Linked DNA regions of Homo sapiens: all the other regions are linked to region 4. Evidence: promoter capture Hi-C in 16 types of primary human blood cells and fetal thymus (Javierre and others, 2016). All regions are on one chromosome and are shown on one strand. Each heading gives the region's core, a stretch centred on a gene start or on the middle of the fragment in contact. The rest is flanking DNA. Distances are from core to core; before and after follow the strand shown.

Region 1 (2,700 bases), core at 109-2,608, 570 kb before region 4:
CATTACCTTTAGGCAGATTCCAGCAAGAGTGGCTGTTGAGAGTCTGTGCAGCTCTGTGGTTGGGACCCAAGGCCCTGGTAGTATGGGCTCACGAGTGGAATCTTCCGATCTGTGGGTTGCGCAGATCTGTGGAAAAAGCACGGTTTCCCAGGCAAGATAGCATACTCATTCACCACCTTCCTTGGTTGGGGGTGGGGTTTGCCCTTTCTCCATGTGGGCCGACGCAGCACCCTGCTTTTTCTTGCTCTTTATGGGTCACACCAACTGCCTAGTCAGTCCTGATGATAAAACCTGGATACCTCGATTGCCAGTGCAGGATTGACATGCTGTTTTGTTTCTTCTCAATTGGAGCCTCTAACTGCTGCTGCTTCTAGTTAGCCATCTTGGTCCCGCCAAGCTCAAGACATTTTTATAAGGGATGATACCAGCCATTTAGTCCGTCTCTAAAGAGCTGATGGTCCTAAGAATTTAACCATGTCAATGAAGAATTGTTTACATTATTAACTGAAGGAAAATGGATGCTCTTTAAAGATTTTTTAAGATTGGGAAATAAAGAAAAGTCAGAAATAATCACACTGGGGCAGGGCATGGTGGCCCACACTTGTAATCCCAGAACTGTGGGAAGCAGAGGCAGGTGGATCACTTGAGGTCAGGAGTTTGAGACCAGCCTGGCCAACGTGGTGAAAACCCATCTCTATTAAAATATAAAAATTACCTGGGCAAGATGGCACACACCTGTAATCCCAGCTACTCAGGAGGCTGAAGCAGGAGAATCACATGAACCTGGGAGGTGGAGGTTGCGGTGAGCCAAGATCGTGCCACTGCACTCCAGCCTGGGCGACAGAGTGAGACCCTGTCTCGAAAAAAAAGAAAAAGAAAAAAAAGAAATAACCAAACTGGGACTGTATGGTGGATGCCCAGTGATTTTACATGTCAGAATTCTTGTGAAATTGCCCTTGTTGAGAGGAATGAACATGAGCGTTGTTGTGGTGGAGAAGAACTCTATAGTAAAGCTTTCCTGGTTATTTTTCTGCTAAAGCTTGGCTTTCTTAAAACGTTCTCTGGCCCTCCAGAAAGTCAACAAGCAAAATACCTTTAAGATCTGCAAAACCTGTTGTCATGACCTTTGCTTTTTGTGTGTGTTGGGACCTTTGCTTTTGACCAGCCAGCTTTTACTTTGACTAGACAATTTACACCTCTTGATAGCATTGCTTTGATTGTGCTTTGTCTTCAAGATCATACTGCTAAAGCCATGTTTCATCTCCCGTTACAATTCTCCAAAGAAAGTATTCAGAATCTTGATCCCATTGTTTAAAATTTCCATGGAAACTCAGCTCTTATCTGCAGCTGATCTGGGTGCAATTTGGCACCCATTGAGCAGAAATTTGCTCAACTTTAATTTTTTAGTCAGAATTGTGTAAGCTGAACCATCTGGGATGTCTATGGTATTTCCTAGTGTATCTGCTGTTAATCATTGGCCCTGTTCAATTACGGTATGAACAGGACTAATTTGTTTCTTATAAAATGATATGGATAGCCTGTCACTACAGGCTTTATCTCCAACATCATCTTATCCCTTCTTAAAACAAGTTATTCATTTGTACACTACTTATTTCTTTGAGGCATTGTCCTCATAAACTTTTCATAAAGTGTCAATGATTTCATTATTCTTCCACCCAAGCTTCACCATAAATCTGATGTTTGTTCTTGCTTCAATTTTAGTGAATTCATGTTGCTCTAATCGGGAGTCTTTTCAAACGGAAGTCCTATCCTTCTTTGTGGCTTAAACTAGATCCTGCTCAGACATGTTATAACAAGTTAATACAAGTTTATTATGATGCAAACTTTATTTAAATTCATGCATATTTTTTCATAGTACGCATTTTTCATGAACTTTTTGAAGACCTCTTGTATTTTCTGGGAGAGATTAGTATTGGTGTTATTTTTTAAATTAAATTTTTTTTACCTCATACCATGTATTTTTTTTTATTCCTTTGAGACATCGTCTTTGGCCCATGGATTATTTAGAGATACGTTAACATCCAAGTGTTAGAATATTTTTCTTTTATCTTTATGTTATTGATTTCTCCTTTGATTCCATTGTGGTCACAGAACACACTCTGTATGATTTCATGTCTTTTACATTTACTGAGGCTTGTTTTATGACTCAGGGCAAGATGTGTTTTGAGATATGTTTCACTGGCACTTGGAAGAGTGTATTTTGAAATTTTTTTTTTTTGAGATGATGGAGTCTCTCTCTCTCTCTCTCTTTTTTTTTTTTGAGACAGAGTCTCACTCTGTTGCCCAGGCTGGAGTGCAGTGGCATGATCTTGGCTCTTGGCTCACTGCAACCTCCACCTCCCGGGCTCAAGTGATTCTCCTGCCTCAGCCTCCCAAGCAGCTGGGACTACAGGCATGCACCACCACACCTGGCTAATTTTTGTATTTTTAGTAGAGACAGGGTTTCACCATGTTGGCCAGGCTGATCTCGAACTCCTGACCTCAAGTGATCTGCTTGCCTCAGTGTCTCAAAGTGCTGGGATTACAGGTGTGAGCCACTGTGCTCAGCCCGTGATTGTTGAATAGTGTGTTCTATAAATGTCAATTAGTTTCCATTGGTTAGTGATGTTACTGAGTTCTTCTATATTCTTGCTGATTTTCTTTTTAGTTGTTCTGTTATTTGTTGAGAGAGAATTGTTG
Region 2 (2,700 bases), core at 131-2,630, 610 kb before region 4:
GCAAGTTGAAGGACTTTGCCTTCTAGGTCATTACGTTGCCCTCTTTTCCATCCATCTCAATCATAAAGAAAATCTTGCTTTCCGGTAAGCTAAAAGAGAGCTACCAAGTGGATATCAGGATATGTGGTAGCATAGTTTTTGGGGTGTAATTTTTCTCAGCTACGGAGTATACACTAACAGAGATACGATAAAAAAAAATGCCGGCCACCATAGGACAAATTGCTGAAAATGCTGCAATAAGTATTATGACACAGTAGAAGTCCTTAAATTCTCTCGCTCAAGTGGTTTTAGACAATCAAATTGCACCAGGTTTTCTCATTGCTAAACAAGGGGGAATTTGCATGATAGCCCACACCACTTGTTGCACTTATATCAACATTATAGGAGATTTAACAACCCATGTAGGTAAGATCACCCAACAGGCTGCCTGGTTACAGGAGGTACAAACCACAGATCCCCTTAATAACGTTTTTAGCTGACTCATTGCAGTATTAGAAATTACTTCCAATCCATCTTACAAACCCTTGTCATTATCATATCACTATCTTGTTCCTATTTTTGATAGTCAAAGTACTTATAAGATCTATAACCAACTACTTCAAGTCTGTCACTAAAACCAAAGTTATGGTAGCACAATGCATAGAAATGACAGACAACATAAACATAAACTTACCTTCTCAACTTTTCTGTTGTTACTGTTTTTCTAGTCTCAAAGGTTCAAAGGGTCTTAATAGCTGTCTGCCTCCTTCTTGCCTGGCCTAAAATATTCAACTGGTTGTAAGTCTCCTAGCCACATGAGTCCCACTGACAGACTAGATAGACCTGGGGCAGGTATCCACACCATCCTGGGAACGACATGGGACATGTTAGAAAATTTAGCCATCAATGCTGCCTATGGCAGATTTCAGCCTAAAGCTGGAAAGTGTGAAATAAAACTAAAGTCCCTAAGCCCCTAGGTGAAACAGAATGGACTTCTTGTTGCAAAAGAGACCCCAGAAACTTTGAAAACTGCATTCTATGGCTTTGGCAAGGCAAGAGGTCAGTCACACCTCAACACTCCCCTACCTTGTTAACTGCCTCAAAACTTTCCTTCCTACAATTAAACAGAAACGAGTTCCTAAAAAACTGTCTGGAAGATTTCTCCCTCAACCTCAAGAGACCTCTTGATGTCATGGCTGACCTCCCCTCTTTTATCGTGGTTTCACCATGACTACTGACCAGCCTTATTAAACATTCCATTGTTATACTGACCACCGACCACAGACTGATTGCACCTAGTCCACAGAGGCTGTGCACAAGATGCCTTTGTGTTCTGTTTCACCTTGTTATATATAAACAGCCACGTGCCACTTCACTTTACTATTAAATCCCCACCCCAAAATGAACATGGAACATATGTAACATATATGTTTATTCTCTTTGCATGCATTAGGGTTTTCTCAAATATTCATAGATTCTCCTATAAGCTACTGAATATGTACATATAGCTCATCTTGTTGGGCATAAGTCCCAGCTTCTCCCTTTTGTCTCTGAAGCAGATGCTTTTCATTTTGGCTGGATGTTTCATTTCCCAACCTGCAGATTGTAACCATTTATAGGAAATAAAACTCTCTTTTTTCTTCTTCCTCAAATCTCATGATCTTTTGTTAATACTTCCCTTCCCAGCAGGGGGGATTATATGAGAAGACTGGACTTAGACCTCTACCCAGTGGTAATGTGGCCATCCTCACTGTGGTGTCAGGGGAGCCAGAACTTCCATGCTTACCCAGCAGTAACAATGAGCTCCCTTCTTCAGGTGGCAATGGAGGCTCTGTGGGGAACCTGGACTTCTGCCTGCACCTGGCAGTAATTAGGTGACATCTCCTTCTTTCTCTGTTCCCCCTTCTGCCTAAATGGTATCAGAGAAATCCCACTAAAACAGAAGGTTTAAATAGGATCCAGAGTAGCGGAATATAATATGAACATATCCAGGTTTTAATGAAAAGTTACTTATCATACCAGAAGATCTCAAACAGAATGAAAAAATGACAATCAACAGATGCCAACATTGTGATGACAGAGATATTAGAATTATCTGACAGAAATTTTAAATTAGCCATTGTAAAAATGCTTCAATAAGCAATTATAAACATTCTTGGAATAAATGAAAAATAGAATGCATAAGCAAAGAAATAGATGATAAAAGAAGAACTAAATGGAAATTTTAGAACTGAAAAATATAATAACTGAAATAAAAACCTCAGTGGATGGGGTGGGTGGGTTCAGCAGCATAATGGAGGAGGCAGAAAAAATAACAAGTGAACTAGAAGATAGAATAATAAAAATTATCCAACCTAAACAACAGAGAGAAATTAGACGGAAAAAAATGAATAGACTTTGATAAGTTGTGGACAGAGCAACCGCTAACATGTTATACAAAGAGATGCACTAAAAAACATAGTATTAACTCAAAATAGAATTTTAGAAAATATTAAAGTAAGATGAAGGCACGAAGAATAAAACAGAGAAGTGAAAATCCAAATGAACAGGAGGCCAGGTGCAGTGGCTCACACCTATAATCCCAGCATTTTGGGAGGCCGAGGTAGGAGGATCACTTGAGGCCAGAAGTTTGAGACCATCTTGGGTGACATAGTGAGACCTCGTCTCTACAAAAAAATAAAAATAAAAAAGCCCCAAAATGAACAATTAGTAAAATACAAC
Region 3 (2,700 bases), core at 5-2,504, 600 kb before region 4:
AGGTGGTGGAGTGGACTGCACTTACCCCAGCAGCAGTGGCAGCAGAGGGTTCATGGGCACACACATGCTGGTAGGACAGGGAAGGTAAAATCCACCCATGCACATATACTCCAGCAATATAGGGGTGGTTGTGGGCCTGGAGTGAGGGGAGGGAGTGGGTGGGCTGGTGCAGTCTGCCAGCGCAGGAGCTATGATGCAGCCCCCCGAGGGCACTCGAGGCTGCATTGCAAGCAGGTGCAGCCAGGCTGGGGCCCTGCGAGAGGTCAGCAGGCAAAGGGGTGCTCACGTCAGACTGGCCTCATTTGGTGGGCAAGACTGCCCTGAGAGCTCATGTCCAACAGTTCCCCTAGGGCTAAAGTCTCTTATGGGAGCAAATCAAGCCTAGGGGGATGGGCATCCCTGATTATGCTTCACTACAGACATTACCACAACAAACCCTCTGGGCTCTGCACCAGCTGGAGTGCTTCCCCTACCACTTCTCTAAGCAGCTCTCCCTGCCAACTCAAGTGTCCATGGTGGTTGAGGGGTCTCCTCCTGCCCAGATTCCAGAGGCATGTGGTGAGGGCAGGTTGCTCCTTTCCAGTTCAACTTGCTCCTTCCCCTGGAGTAATTGGGGGCTTTTTTTCAGGTTTGATATCGGAGTAATGCTGGCCTCGCAGAATGAGTTTGAATGTATTCTCTCCTCTTTAGTATTTTGAAATATTTTGAGAATAATTGGTATTCTTCTTCTTTTTTTTTTTTTTTTTTTTTGGGACAGAGTCTTGCACTATCTCCCAGGCTGGAGTGCAGTGGTGCGATCTCGGCTCACTGCAAGCTCAGCCTCCCAGGTTCACGCCGTTCTCCTGCCTCAGCCTCCCGAGTAGCGGGGACTACAGGCGCCCGCCATCACGCCCGGCTAATTTTTTGTATTTTTAGTAGAGACGGGATCTCACCGTGTTAGCCAGGATGGTCTCGATTTCCTGACCTCGTGATCCACCCGCCTTGGACTCCCAAAGTGCTGGGATTACAGGCATGAGCCGCCGCGCCCGGTTTTTATTCTTCTTTAAATGTTGGTAGAATTCAGTAGTGAAACTACCAGGTATTGGGCTTTTCTTTGATGGGAGACTTTTTATTACTGATTCGATGTCCTTACTCATTATTGGTCTCTTGAAATTTTTTTATAACTTCATAATTCAATCTTAGTAGGTTGTATGTGTCCAGGAATTTATCTGTTTCTTCTAGGTTATTCCATTTGTTGGTGTAAAATTGTATAATAATGTCTTATGATCCTTTTTATTTCTGTGGTATCAGTTATAATGTCTCCTTTTTCATTATTGTTTTGTTTGTCTTCTCTCTATTTTCCTTAGGTAGTTTAGCTAACTGTTGGCTGGTTTTATTTTTTCTCAAAACACCAACTCTTAATTTTGTTGCTCTTTTGTATTTTTTTCAAGCCTCTATTTCATTTATTTATATGCTGATATTTTTTAGACGAGGCCTCACTCTGTCACCCAGGCTGGAATGCAGTGGTGTGATGTTGGCTCACTGCAACGTCTACTACCCAGGCTCAAGAGTTCCTCCCACCTCAGCCTCTTGAGCAGCTGAAACCACAGGCACCTGCCACCACGCCTGGCTATTTTTTTTTTTCATTTTTGGAAGAGATGGTGTTTCACCATGTTGCCCAGGCTGGTCTTGAACTCCTGTGCTCAAGTCATCCATATACCTCAGCCTCCCAAAGTGCTGGGATTACAGGCGTGAGCCACCTCATCTCACCTAAATTATGACCTTTATTACTTCCTTCTCCTAATTTTAGATTTAGTTTGTTCTTGTATTTCCAGTTCCTTGAGGTATAATGTTGGATTCTTTATTTGAAACCTTTCTTCTTTTTGAATGTAGGTGTTTATAGCTATAAACTTTTCTCTGAGAACTGCTTTTGCTGTATCCCATAAGTTTTGGTGCATTGTGTTTCCATTTCTATTTGTCCAAAAGGGATATTTAAATGTCTTTTAATTTCTTCATTGACTCATTGGTTTTTCAGGAGCATATTTACTCTCTATGAATGTATAAAGTTTCTGAAGTTCCTTCTGTTATTGATTTTTAGTTTTATATCATTGTGGTCAGAAGAGACAATTGATATGATTTCAATCTAAAATTTGTCAAGGCTTGTTTTGTGGCCTAACATATTATCTATTCTGTTAAATATTTTATGTACAGTTGAGAAGAATGTGTATTCTGCAGCTGTTGGATGGAATGTTCTGTAAATGTCTGCTAGGTCCATTTGGTCTACAGTGCAGTTTAAATCTGAAGTTTCTTTGTTGATTTTCTGTCTGGATGACCTGTCCATTGCTGAAAATGGATAGCAAATCCCCCTAATATCATTGTATTGCAGTCTTGTTCTCCCTTTAGATCTATTAATATTCGCTTTATATATTTAGGTGTTCCAATATTGGATGCTTTTGTATTTACAATTGTTATATCCTCTTGCTGAATTGAACTTTTATTATTATATAATGACTTTCATTGTCTCTTTTTAGAGTTTTTGACTTAAAGTTTATTTTATCTGATGTAAGTACAGCTATTCTTGCTCTCTTACAGTCTCCATTTGCATGGAAATTCTTTTTTTTTTTTTTTTTTGAGACAGAGTCTTGCTCTGTCGCCCAGGCTGAAGTGCAGTGGCATGAAATTATATTCATTAAGGTGAAGATAAAATGTGCTTTGGCATAA
Region 4 (2,811 bases), core at 128-2,627:
GGAGGAGAAGTTCATAGTAAAAGGAATGGAAAGTATAAAGGCATGATGCAAGGAAACAAGTGAAAAGGTATCTTAAGAAAACAGATAATAGGCTGTTTCGAATAGAGTATGAGTATGGGTGAGCACTGCAAAATAGTAGAATAAATTGTTGAGTTGGATCTCATTTGGTAATGCATTTGAAATAAAGGGATTTGCTTTGAACCAAGACTGGTTCTAAGCCTGGAACTACAGAATAAGTTCCAAAATTGGGTGTCTAAGAACTCTGAATACCTCTCCAATATTTACCAGTGGTCAAGTCAAACTCGTTTTGCTCATTAATGGTATAAGTCGGCTGGAGCTGAGAATTGGCATTATAGAGAATGTTTTTGAGACAGAGTCTTGCTCTGTCACCCAGGATGGACTTCAGTGGCATGATCTCAACTCACTGCAACCTCTGCCTCCTGAGTTAAGTGATTCTGCTGCCTCAACCTCCCGAGTAGCTGGCGTTACAGGTACCCGCCACCATGCCTGGATAATTTTTATTTTTTTTAGTAGAGATGGCTTGCACCATGTTGGACAGGCTAGTCTCAAACTCCTGACCTCATGTGTTCTTCCCACCTTGGCCTCCCAAAGTGCTGGGATCACAGGTCACTGCACCCAGCCTAGAGTATTTAATATACATTCATATAAAAAAGAAGCACTGGTTTCATAAAACAAATGTACATTATATGAGATTCCACTTCATAAAAGCATGTATGTGTACCCCAACACTAAATTGGCCCTTTTAACAAAATATCAGACTTTGTCCTACTTAACTGGAAAGATTATCTATATTTTATAAAGAAGAGAAATAACATAATAGTAAGGCTGTGATTTCCTCTTTTTTGCAAAAACTATTTTTGAAAAGTATTACTGAATTGATAACATATATATGGAGAGATTTAAAATACTAGATAAGGGAGCTTATTCCAATGAATTTACAGAAAGGTAGGTATTTTAGTCAACTAAAAATATAAATAAAAATTATCAATTCACTTATTTGGATACAGCAGTCATGCCAGAGTTTATAAATATAGTGAAATCACTGAAGATTTTTTTTTACCCCCAAAACTGAAAAAAATGGCAGTGTACCTTGTGAATTTTTTAAATGAAAAAAGAATACGAAATGATGAAGGCCCTTATCTGATGATGACAAACTAGAAAACTGAAATGTAAAGGGGAAAATGTGAGTATGTGTTTCCCTCCAGCAAATTAAAGACAGGGTACATAGATTCAAGAGGTTGCGCTTTGAGGATAAAAAGCTGGGCCCTGTGCAGTTTTCCAAGACAACCTCTGGGCGCCGCTGTCGACCAAAAGGAAGTGAAGGCTTCTCAATTCTGCAGGAGCGTCAGGCAGGGTGCCTTCCTGCTTTGTCCGGTGCACTGAGCACAGACGCTGCTCCTGTTCACCCTCGAGCGCCTAACTAATAAGTCCTAAGCTCAAATCACAGAAGTCCAGGGTGCTGCCATTTCTTTTTGAAAAACATCCCAGAGGAAAGAAGCTCCGCGGAGAGTTCCTGAAATGCAGAGAGCCAGAGAAGCCGAAATGATGAAAAGTCAGGTACTGTTTCCCTTCCTGCTGTCTTTGTTCTGCGGGGCCATCTCCCAGCAGATCCGATACACGATTCCAGAGGAGCTAGCCAACGGCTCACGGGTGGGGAAACTTGCCAAGGATCTGGGGCTCAGTGTCCGGGAGTTGCCAACTCGAAAACTGCGGGTTAGTGCAGAGGATTATTTCAACGTTAGTTTGGAGAGCGGGGATTTGTTAGTGAACGGTAGGATAGATCGAGAGAAGATTTGCGGAAGGAAACTTGAGTGTGCACTAGAATTCGAAACGGTCGCTGAAAACCCAATGAATGTTTTCCACGTGGTTGTTGTAATCCAAGATATTAATGACAATGCACCACGTTTCGTTGCAAAAGGCATTGACTTAGAAATTTGTGAGTCAGCCTTACCCGGGGTAAAATTCTCTCTGGATTCTGCTCAAGATGCAGATGTGGAAGGCAATTCACTGAAGTTATACACCATCAACCCCAATCAATACTTCTCTCTGTCAACGAAGGAAAGTCCTGATGGAAGTAAATATCCGGTATTACTGCTGGAAAAACCTCTAGACAGGGAACATCAGAGCTCTCATCGCTTAATCCTGACTGCCATGGATGGCGGGGACCCGCCTCTAAGCGGCACCACCCATATCTGGATCCGAGTTACGGATGCCAATGATAATGCTCCCGTGTTTAGCCAGGAGGTATACAGGGTTAGCCTCCAAGAAAACGTACCGTGGGGAACCTCCGTGCTGCGGGTGATGGCCACAGACCAGGATGAGGGCATTAATGCAGAGATCACCTATGCCTTCCTCAATTCCCCAATAAGTACCAGCCTCTTCAATCTCAATCCAAATACTGGCGACATCACAACCAATGGCACATTGGATTTTGAAGAGACAAGTAGATATGTGTTGAGTGTGGAAGCTAAGGATGGAGGAGTACACACAGCTCACTGTAATGTTCAAATAGAAATTGTTGACGAGAATGACAATGCCCCAGAGGTGACATTCATGTCCTTCTCTAACCAGATTCCAGAGGATTCAGACCTTGGAACTGTAATAGCCCTCATAAAAGTGCGAGACAAGGATTCTGGGCAAAATGGCATGGTGACATGCTATACTCAGGAAGAAGTTCCTTTCAAATTAGAATCCACCTCGAAGAATTATTACAAGCTGGTGATTGCTGGAGCCCTAAACCGGGAGCAGACAGCAGACTACAACGTCACAATCATAGCCACCGACAAGGGC

Evidence for each region. The method cuts DNA at HindIII sites, captures the fragments that hold promoters and counts their contacts. A CHiCAGO score of 5 or more calls a contact.
Region 1: a contact is called between a fragment that was not itself captured here and the fragment with the promoter of PCDHGB1 in region 4, in 5 of 17 cell types (M1 macrophages, M2 macrophages, erythroblasts and 2 more). The highest score is 14.0, in M1 macrophages.
Region 2: a contact is called between a fragment that was not itself captured here and the fragment with the promoter of PCDHGB1 in region 4, in 4 of 17 cell types (M1 macrophages, M0 macrophages, M2 macrophages and 1 more). The highest score is 10.7, in M1 macrophages.
Region 3: a contact is called between a fragment that was not itself captured here and the fragment with the promoter of PCDHGB1 in region 4, in 4 of 17 cell types (M2 macrophages, M1 macrophages, erythroblasts and 1 more). The highest score is 9.4, in M2 macrophages.

The regions. Positions count from the first base shown.
Region 1 is chr5:140,776,387-140,779,086 of GRCh38, forward strand. No RefSeq gene overlaps it. Among named protein-coding and RNA genes, the nearest start is that of PCDHA1, 8.4 kb to the right of the region's middle. The HindIII fragment of the contact is 642 bases long and covers 1,038-1,679 here.
Region 2 is chr5:140,735,573-140,738,272 of GRCh38, forward strand. All of the region lies in intron 3 of LOC105378198 (a long non-coding RNA gene), which reads left to right. Among named protein-coding and RNA genes, the nearest start is that of ZMAT2, 36 kb to the left of the region's middle. The HindIII fragment of the contact is 5,793 bases long and covers 1-2,700 here.
Region 3 is chr5:140,753,551-140,756,250 of GRCh38, forward strand. All of the region lies in intron 3 of LOC105378198 (a long non-coding RNA gene), which reads left to right. Among named protein-coding and RNA genes, the nearest start is that of PCDHA1, 31 kb to the right of the region's middle. The HindIII fragment of the contact is 5,694 bases long and covers 1-2,700 here.
Region 4 is chr5:141,348,722-141,351,532 of GRCh38, forward strand. It overlaps PCDHGB1 (protocadherin gamma subfamily B, 1), which reads left to right and starts at 1,378. Exons shown (of 4, transcript NM_018922.3): 1 at 1,378-2,811. The coding sequence starts at 1,540. The region is part of intron 1 of PCDHGA1 (protocadherin gamma subfamily A, 1); the gene reads left to right. All of the region lies in intron 1 of PCDHGA2 (protocadherin gamma subfamily A, 2), which reads left to right. The region is part of intron 1 of PCDHGA3 (protocadherin gamma subfamily A, 3); the gene reads left to right. It also overlaps PCDHG@. The HindIII fragment of the contact is 7,439 bases long and covers 1-2,811 here.